3 separate regions of the Homo sapiens genome follow, and all the other regions are linked to region 1. Evidence: promoter capture Hi-C in 16 types of primary human blood cells and fetal thymus (Javierre and others, 2016). All regions are on one chromosome and are shown on one strand. Each heading gives the region's core, a stretch centred on a gene start or on the middle of the fragment in contact. The rest is flanking DNA. Distances are from core to core; before and after follow the strand shown.

What was found. Contacts are between HindIII fragments. The CHiCAGO score rates a contact against its expected background, and 5 or more counts as called.
Region 2: a fragment that was not itself captured here is called in contact with the fragment with the promoter of LIN7C in region 1 in 8 of 17 cell types (naive CD4 T cells, total B cells, non-activated CD4 T cells and 5 more); the score reaches 7.9 in naive CD4 T cells.
Region 3: a fragment that was not itself captured here is called in contact with the fragment with the promoter of LIN7C in region 1 in 9 of 17 cell types (non-activated CD4 T cells, total CD4 T cells, activated CD4 T cells and 6 more); the score reaches 9.6 in non-activated CD4 T cells.

Annotation. Positions count from the first base shown.
Region 1 is chr11:27,505,246-27,508,530 of GRCh38, reverse strand. LIN7C (lin-7 cell polarity scaffold C) reads left to right here and starts at 1,762. Exons shown (of 5, transcript NM_018362.4): 1 at 1,762-1,815. The coding sequence starts at 1,779. It overlaps BDNF-AS (BDNF antisense RNA), which reads right to left and starts at 1,679. Exons shown (of 7, transcript NR_033315.1): 1 at 1,633-1,679. RefSeq lists enhancers at 1,356-1,645, 1,716-1,845, 1,002-2,201. The HindIII fragment of the contact is 9,378 bases long and covers 1-3,285 here.
Region 2 is chr11:28,116,194-28,119,478 of GRCh38, reverse strand. All of the region lies in intron 3 of METTL15 (methyltransferase 15, mitochondrial 12S rRNA N4-cytidine), which reads right to left. Among named protein-coding and RNA genes, the nearest start is that of METTL15, 9.4 kb to the right of the region's middle. The HindIII fragment of the contact is 7,760 bases long and covers 1-3,285 here.
Region 3 is chr11:28,096,304-28,099,588 of GRCh38, reverse strand. It overlaps KIF18A (kinesin family member 18A), which reads left to right. Exons shown (of 17, transcript NM_031217.4): 2 at 1,596-1,966. The coding sequence starts at 1,642. Among named protein-coding and RNA genes, the nearest start is that of KIF18A, 10 kb to the left of the region's middle. The HindIII fragment of the contact is 3,247 bases long and covers 1-3,137 here.

The DNA.
Region 1 (3,285 bases), core at 513-3,012:
AATAAGGGCAATGTTTGCATTTGTCTTGCTCTACCTGGTATTCCTATCAAGGCACCTGGTATATATTAGGTGTTTAATAAACATTTCTTGAACACATTTGCAGCAAAAAAAAATGACAACGAGTAAGAGATAAGCACCTGAGTGTTACTGCAACGTATTTAGGCCATCAGAGGACAAAAAAGGGGAATAATATGGAGAAAAGGCTTGGTAGAAGTGGCATGCCTTCAGCAGGGACCCACGAAATGGGTTCAACTGAGTGTGTACAAAGTTTGGAGACTAGGAAGGGATGAAGAAGGGCATTCCACACAAGAACAACACAAATGAAGATTTGGAGCCTGGCACAGTGGCCCACGCCTGTAATCCCAGCACTTCGGGAGGCCAAAGCAGGAGGACTGCTTGAGCTCAGGAGTTTGAGACCAGCCTGGGCAACATAGCAAGACCCCCATCTCTACTAAAAATTTAAAAATTTGCCAGGCATGGTGGTGCTTGCCTGTAGTCCTCGCTACTGGCAAGACTGAGACAGGAGGCTCTCTTGAGCTGTGATTGCACCACTGCACTCCAGTCTGGACAACAGAGAGAAACTCTGTCTCTAAAACAAACAAAAAGACTTGGAATCAGGAATAAATATGGTTGAAACTATACTATCTGGACTGAAGTGGTGGTTGCACTTAGTGGTAATGAGAAATGAAGTTAGTTGGATGAGTTAGGGTCAGAGTATGCAAGGCTTTAGAAATAGGAAACAGGAGAGAAACCATTGAAAGTTTCTGAACAGAACTTGTGATGATGAAATCAGAATTCAAGGGGAGAAAAAGGAGCATAGTGGTGGCATCCATGATGGATTTGGAGAAGAAAATACTAAAGGTGAATGGAAAGGGTGGACCAGGGGCAAACAGGTTATTAAAACAGTCCCATCATGAAGTGTTGAAATGCTGGATGTAAACACACCTACCACAGTATCAGTACAGACTAAGGGCTTGGATAAATGTTAGTCAAATCCAAGTACTAAAATTCTTCTTGGTTCGCGAAAATTTCAGAAGTGGCTCAAAAATCTGTAATGCATTAAGAATATTATTTGCTTCACAATATTTCATTTACTTAAGATTTTATAAGAATCAGCTGCTTATAAAATTGTTACTTTGTGGTGCACCAAAGCACCTTGTTCTCTCCCTCACCCAGATATGTTTCATGCTCTTTGTACTTTCCACCCCTTAACAGATTTGGAGGGAAGATTCAAGCCGTGGATTTTTAAATTTAAAGCAATGCTGTCACAAATTGAGAACTGACAACATGTCATTACACATTTAATTGCCACCGAATCCCAGAGTTTAAAAATTGTAAGGACCTAAGAGATAGGACCTCTCGTTGTACAGATGCGGAAACTGAGGCTGAGAGAGGGTAAGTGAACAGTCCCAGGTCACAGAGCTGCTAATGGGCAAGGTGGGACTAGAATCCAGGCTTGACTCCTCTACGCTGAGCCAAGGGTTCGAAGCGATTGGGATAAGGGAAGCCTGAGGCAGGGAACGAGAGTCAGGAAAGCAGCTCTTCCCAACCCTAGGAGGCCGGGGGACCTCGTCACCGCGGAAGGAGCGGAGCCAGGCCGACCTAAAAAGCCGCAAGTCCAGGTACCCTTACCCTGATGGCCGCGGCGACACACTCGGCCACCTTCCTGATCTCGCGATACTAGCCGGTACTCACTTTTCCGGCTTCCCCTAGGCCCCGCCCCCCCACCTCAGCCCTTCTGTCGTCATTTCCTGTGGGTCTGTAGGTTAAGGGAGAAGATGGCGGCGCTAGGGGAACCCGTGCGGCTGGAGAGAGGTGAGTGCAGCCGAGGCTCGGCGGAGGTGGGCGGAAGGGTTGGGGGAGTGCTGTGTCGCTGGAGGGGAGGAGGAGTGACCCAGGCTCTGAGATCCGGGCCACGCTGTCCCTTGTGCCGGCGCCAGAGGCCGCCGTTGTCTCTGTGCCTGGCTCTAGGAAGGGCGCTTACGGTATTTTGTCTGTTAACCGTAAGCCCTCCTCTGTTCACACGGACTGTTCCAAGGCACAGCACAACTAAACACAACCTGCCCGCTTCGCAGACACACGCCGCACACGCGCTCCCTTGGTGAGCACAGCAGAAGCAGCATTCGGAGACCCGTACACCCGAAAAGCAAACGTCACACACCCGGTTCGCACAGACTACACTCATTGCCTGTACAGCACGAGAACGGACACACGGTACAATTCAACAGAACCTCCTTTCCCCGCTGTTTGCACACAAACTCCTTCATTACTTTCTCCACAACCTCGCTTGTATTCGGGTTGGGGTATTTGCTAGCTTTTGTGCCCCTCCTAGAAATGGAGAGGTTGCTTTAAAAACAATCCTACTGACTTGGTCTTGGGAAGGAGGTTACGTAAGTAAGCCGAATAGTGGTAGATGCTAAAACACTTGCAGGTGCAGTGTTTTTCATTTCTTACAAACCCTACAATTGCAAACTGGTTGGCTGATTGCTTCCTAGAGCAGACTGTCAAGGAAAATAAAACCACCTCTGCTGAGTAATTAGAGATAGAGAAGCCTACGAAAATAACTGGCTATGCGCCTACCATGATTTCCAGCATTCCAGCGTTTCCAGTCCTTTTACAGATTTCCAGCATTCCACTCTGTCCCTAAGTCCTTTATTTCAAACAATTTCAAGCATGCTTTTCATACACCAGCATTAGAAATCATTGATAGGAATTGAGAAGTACAAATAAACATTTTGAGTACTGGTGGTAAAAAAAAATGTATATGTAGGATGGAGACTGAAATTATATTGCACATATTAACATTTGCAATTAGTCTAAATATTACTATTGTTCCCTAAGAAAACACATTTTTAGAATTACTGTACTTAGAAAAACCTCTTTCCTAATGCCTTCCCACAAACAAATGTGCACTTAATGTTGCTGATTTGCTCTTTACCGTGTTCACCATTTGGAAGCCTCACTGTAAATGAGATTGTTTCCGTTAAGCCTATTAAAGCATCATTTTAGAGGACTAGCTACTCTGGGAAGACTTGCCGAGTTAGGCCTAAGTCTCTGACATCTTCCTCTTGAGCACAGTGGCACTGTGTTTTATAGATGGGAGCAAATCTGTTTGGTGTTAACAGGAGTAAGTTTTTTCTTTGAAAGCTAGTTAAGATTCTAACGTATTGGTCTTTTGTGTTTTTGTTGTTGCTGTTTGGAGACGTAGTCTTGCTCTGTCGCCCAGGCTGGAGTGCAGTGGCGCGATCTCGGCTCACTGCAACCTCTGCCTCCCGGGTTCAAGCA
Region 2 (3,285 bases), core at 295-2,794, 610 kb before region 1:
TCAGACCTGGCCTGCCATACTGACGCTGAAATTATATAAAAGTCTTGAGCCAGAGAAGCTACCTCAGTACCCAAGGGACATTCCTCTTATTGGTGCCTCACATCTGTCTTCTAGTTTACTTTGACTTTTATTCATTCACTTAAAACATCATTACAAAACTACCATGTGGCAGGCCTTGTGCTAAGCACTAGAGATATAATGGTAAGCAAGACAAATATGTCCATGGCTTCATGGAGGGCAATCTACTAAGAGAGGTGTATATTGAACAAATAATCTCATCATAATTATAATTATGACTTATTAAGTTGCTATGAAGAAAAGTACATGATATATAATTGGGATACCTGTCTTCTGTGGAGGCTCATGAAAAGTTCCCATAAAAAGGTAAAACCTGACTCCAGGCCTGAAGGATGAAGATGAGGAGAGTTCCAGAAAGAGGAAACAGTACTTTTTCAGTTCCAGACAGGTTGGTTCCACCTTTGCTCTCCCCTTGCATTTTTCTCCTGAATTTCTTTTTTAATCTAGCTAACAACTTTGACTCTTTCTATTCCCATAGTAACAGCTAATGTTTATTGGGCTCAACTACTTGGAAGATACAATTCTAAACAATTTATGTATATTAACTCATCTAATCCTTACAGTAACCAGGAGTGAGATAGGTTCTCTTTCCTTATTTTACAGATAAGGAATCTGAGGCACAACCATGGAAAGTTAATTGACCAAACTGCACAGCTACTTGTACTAGTGGGGTACTTGTACCCTTATAATAACACTCAAAGAAGCCCCAAGGCACCAAGCTAAATTAGCACTACTACTGGGGCAAGAGTATCAGGTTTCCTATACTCTCCAAACTGCTACCATCTTAAACTAAGCAGAATTTAGCTATTTAGAAAATAACCAAACTTTTTTTTCTCCAGTTTTCAGAAATCAAGAATAAAAAGTTAATCTATTAGCCCAGACTAAAATATCTCCAGGAGAAAAAAAAAAGTTCTTAGGATAATACATTTTCACAAAAAGTTATTCACCTAGAATATGAAATGATGCAAACTAAGCAGGGAGAAATAATTATAATTTCTTTAATTTCTCCTTAACAATTAAAATTTTAAATACCTTCCAAGAGAAAGAGGATATTTTTCTCATAATTAAAACTAGTAAATATTTTAAGTGTATTTGAAAAACAAATCTGTAGTAAACTACATAGGTAGTAAACTAGCTATGATGCTAAAGAAATTCCCAAAATCACTATTTTCTTTAGGTGAGCACCTTTCAAGTATTAAAGAAAAAAGAACTATAAAATGCCTTGCACCTCACTTCAAATACATTCAGATATTTTTTAAAGTTCCTGTTACATCAAAAGTTTCATCTGGAGAATGGAGTGAACCTGCGAGGTGGAGCTTGCAGTAAGCTGAGATTGTGCCACTGTACTCCAGCCTGGACGACAGAGCGAAACTCCGTCTCAAAAAAAAACAAAAAAACAAAAAAAAGTTTCATCTGTAAATTCATCATTGAAGGTGATGCAGAAAAAGGTAATAGTAAGTAAGTAAGTGACTGATGCAAGTGAGTGTATGACTCATAGTTTGAAAAGGAAAATGATTTTGGGGAAAAGGCTCAGGAAGAAGAGAAGCAAATAATGGATTATGGACAAAATGAAGACCTTTCCTGTCCAAGGACTGTCACCAGTTCTTTATTACTTGAAGATTAAGGGAATAGTGAATAAAGCTGTCTGCCAGACAGCAGAAAAGGTAAGAAATAACATTGTCTCTAAGTGTACCTCACAAGAAAGTTTTTAGAAGTAACATTGGAAACATTAAACTTCTTATAAAAAGTTACTGGAAAACCCAACTCAAATCAGAAAAAGGAAAATGCCAAAATAAACCAACATTACATTTGTAGGTACTTGAACAGAATGAAACAGCAGTGTAGGTCAAGTTGTAGAATTATCTAATTTTATTCCACTTGGTTTTAGAAAATAGTTGGATACAATACTGATTTGCTAGAAGATGTAGTGCAATTTGTTTTTGTTTGTTTTTCTACTCCATGGCTTAGTGCAACATAAGCATTTGGCTTTGTTACTAGGGTTTAATAAACTAATACAATGTGCTTCGGTTTTTAGTTTCAGAAGTCAAGTTCAAGCCACTGAATTTGGTTCCAATTTTTACTAACTGCCCCTATCCTTTCATATATATATATATATATATATATATATATATATATATATACACACACACACACACACACACACATACATATATAGGTGTATATATGTATGTATATATACACACACTAACAAATATCACATATATTTCAATATACATTTTTTAAAACTCACACTTATGTATGGATTTTAATTGTTACCCCTGCATTATGGATCTTTTTAAAGCACGAAGAGAATTTCATTTTGATGAAGTCACTCACATTCAACAAGAAGTTTTATCCAATTTAATATTTTAATTTACATTTTCATGTATATTTGGAGTCCCACTACATGACAGCATTGAGCTAAATACTTTATACACGTAAATTCATTTAAGAATACTGGGTTTATCTGGGTGCAGCAGCTCACACCCATAGGACCAGCTACTCAGGAAGCTGAGACAGGAAGGATCACCTGAGCCCAGGAGTTCCAGACTACAGTGAGTTATGATCACATCACCATACTTCAGCCTCAACAACAGAGACAGACTCTCTCTAGAACAATTAAAATTTAAAAAAAAATTTTTTAAAGAATGCTGGATTTATTTTGTGTGTAAACTTGCCTGTGTATACTGCCTGAGGAGAAGGTAAATAATATTTTTATGAAGAACCCACATCGTATCACTGATGGCTTTTGTATGAGCAACATCTAGCCATTGTAGTACACCTTATACATATAGCTTAAATTTAGTTCATGAAAACTGCCTGATCCAACATGAAAAAGTTTCAGAAAAAAGAAAAGCTGGGTGTGTGCACACATGCACATGTTTCCTAGACAAGAGCTTAGAACCTAGGCAGTCCAGTTCCAGAATCTTTGCTCTTAACCACTAAGCAGTATGTTGGAAAAAGAAGAAAGATATAAAAATAACTGATTTAGATAAAAACAGTAGCTTCTAGAATAAGGGATCACATTTCTGAAGTCAGTACACTAAGAAATATAAGCATTAAATTATCTTTAAAAATTGAAGACAATCTACAATACTTTTTTCTCTTGTGAATGAATATACATATCAGAAAGTTTCTAGCTTTTTCGTTTTCAATATTATATCAACCAACATTTTTTACATTGCTTTAAAGAGATCATACCTACCT
Region 3 (3,285 bases), core at 265-2,764, 590 kb before region 1:
AAAAAAAATGTGTAAGTTTATAGGATACAATGTAATGTTTTGATACATGTGTACACAGTGGAATGAGCATATCAGGCTAATTAATTAACATATCCATCACCTCACATACCATTTTTTTGTTGTGAGAACATTTAAAATGTACTCTTAGCAATTAACCATGGTCACCTTGCTGTGCAATAGATCACCAAAACTATTCCTCTTGTATAACTGAAACTTTGTACCCTTTGACCAACATTTCCCCTTTTACCACCCACCCCACCCTCCTCAGCCTCTGGTAACCATTACTCTACTTCTCTGTGTTCATATTTTTAGATTCTGCATAAAAGTGAGATCATGTGATATTTGTCTTTTTGTACCTGGCTTATTTTACTTAGCATAATGCCCCCTAGATTCATTCATGTCGTCATAAATGACAGAATTTTAGTCTTTTTTAAGGCTGAATAGTATTTCATTGAGTGCATATACCACATTTTTTCGATCTATTTATCTGTTGATAGGCACTTAGATTGTTTATATATCTTAGTTATTGTGAATAATGTTGTAGCGAACATGGCAGGGCAAATATCTCTTCAACATACTGATTTTAATTCCTTTGGATATATACTCAGAAGTGGGATTGCAGGATCGTCCTAAGTCTCACCTTTTGGTCCTTACTCAGATCTTGTTGTTTTGGGGTGTTTTATTTTGTTTTGTGGTTTGGTTTTTTTTTGTCTTTTTGTTGTTGTTGTTGTTTGTTTTTTTGTTTTGGTTTTTGGGTCTGCAGATTCTAGAGTATTTTCTGGATAGTTGAGACTTCCAAATTATTGATCTTTGTTACTTTACTTTTCTTCTTTGCATGTGAACCAGTCATAAAATCAGACCATAATTTTTAAACCTGCTATCATTGATTCCTTAAACTTGCACACAATTAGAAAGCAGAGAGTAGGATCAATATTCAGAGACTAGGTCTCTGAATACACCAAGGAGTCTATGCCATCTCTATCACCTTCAGACCTGAGCTATCTAGTTGAATGCATCCTTGGAACTATTTTTAACCCTATGGGCTTCTGAGATACAGGTAGAGACCAGCCTGGGTGTATCACTTTCCACGGCCAAGGGGCTTGCAGCCAAGATCACTTTTACTAAAAATAGTTCACAAGCTAAGGCTCTCCAATCATACCTTGATATGGTTCTGGGAGATCCTTTTCTATTCATTCCCATGACCTAAGCTGAAATAGTGCTGGAGGGCTTGTGAAAATCAAATCTGGGTTTTAGGATAGCATATCTGTGATTATATATGGTTCAGCTATAGTATTTGAGTTTAAGCCAAATATCCTACTAATATTTCAGGTAAAGAGATTTTTATCGTAGTTGTGTGTACGTATGTGCCATTTAATTGTTTGTTTTAGGGTACTTAAGTGCATATGTGTGTATGTGTGCATATATTTGTGTGTGTGTGTTGTGTGTGCCTACGTATGTATGTATTTTTCCCCCAGTGTTTACCTAGTGAGTGAAACAGAATTATTAACATCTTTTTTGAATGAATACTACATGCCAGTTGTTTTGCATGAAAGTAAAAACTGATATTAAAACTTTATTTTCTTTTTTAATTTCAGAGAAGTATTCAAGTATTTATACAGATAGGAATCAAGATAATCAACAATGTCTGTCACTGAGGAAGACCTGTGCCACCATATGAAAGTAGTAGTTCGTGTACGTCCGGAAAACACTAAAGAAAAAGCAGCTGGATTTCATAAAGTGGTTCATGTTGTGGATAAACATATCCTAGTTTTTGATCCCAAACAAGAAGAAGTCAGTTTTTTCCATGGAAAGAAAACTACAAATCAAAATGTTATAAAGAAACAAAATAAGGATCTTAAATTTGTATTTGATGCTGTTTTTGATGAAACGTCAACTCAGTCAGAAGTTTTTGAACACACTACTAAGCCAATTCTTCGTAGTTTTTTGAATGGATATAATTGCACAGGTATTTGTTTCAATTTGGGATTTAATTTCTCTATCCGATTTCACTTTTGCATTAGGACGGACATCTACTTGACCCTTCTAAATATAATCAAATTTAAGGAGCTTGTATGCTAAAAATTCTTAAGAAATTCAATAGACTTGAACTGTAAATATAGACTTTGAAATTTTAGTTATCATATATAACTTATACATCATTTGTAAACCTTTCTCTTCCAGGGCCTTACTGTGGCCCCTATAGACATCTGTCCTTTCAGTTGCCTATGTTATTAAACCACATGCTTATTGCAATTAACATCAGTTTTCTCATAACCTGTATTTATAACTTTTCCTACAGCTTACCTATGTAATTATCTATTCCTGGAGAGTAGTCAGACATTTCTGAACATTTGACAGTTTCTTTTCAGCAGTTTTTCTTCATGGCACATTGAAATAAAAATGTTTAAGTTGGCGAAGGATAGGAGGAGACTGAGGATCAAAAAACTACCTATGGGGTACTACACTCCTTACCTGAGTGATGAAAAAATCTGTACACTAAACCCCGCAGCATGCAATTTACCCATGTAACAAACCTGCACTGTACCCCCAAACCTAAAATAAAAATTGGAAAGGGGGTAAAAGTGTTAAGATCCCATGTTAATTATCTCATGCCCTTTAGCTCATTGTTAGCCCAAGAAGCATCTTTAGTGCTTTTTTTGGCCTTTCAAGAAAGCCATGTTGATTTCCTTTTTAAAAAAAAAAAAAGAGAGAGAGAGAGAGAGATACCCAAGATGCAAAATGGCCAGTTTTTCAGTGCCTACCAGGCACTAAACACCATTATTAATATCTTATTTTTGTAATTATTAGTATTTATGATATTTTCCCCAAGACAGCTCACAACTATAACATGTTTCACTGTCTTTTCCTGATTCATTTCAGTTTTATCATGGAAGACATACCCTCTTGATCAAGTAAGGATGGAGTGTGGTTTATTGATTGGTACTACTGTGATTCCCATTTTTAAGAAGATATTCTTTTCCTCTTTCATGAAACTTCATATGTCTCTAGAGATTTTGAAATCTTCTTAACTCTAAGAAAAAAAGTAGACTCTCTATCAAACTACTATTGAATTTTTGGTTTCTTTTTGGCTTTCTTTATATTCTTACCCTGTCTTTAAGACAGCTTAAGAATAAGCTTAAGAATAAGCCATTTTAAACCTTCCTTATATACCAGCTTACATAAAATAGAACAAAGTAAAATATACACCATCTTAATTCATCCTACTGAAAAGTATTTTTGTGGTTTGTTAACATTTGGTTTAGCAGACAGATTGAATTTATAAAA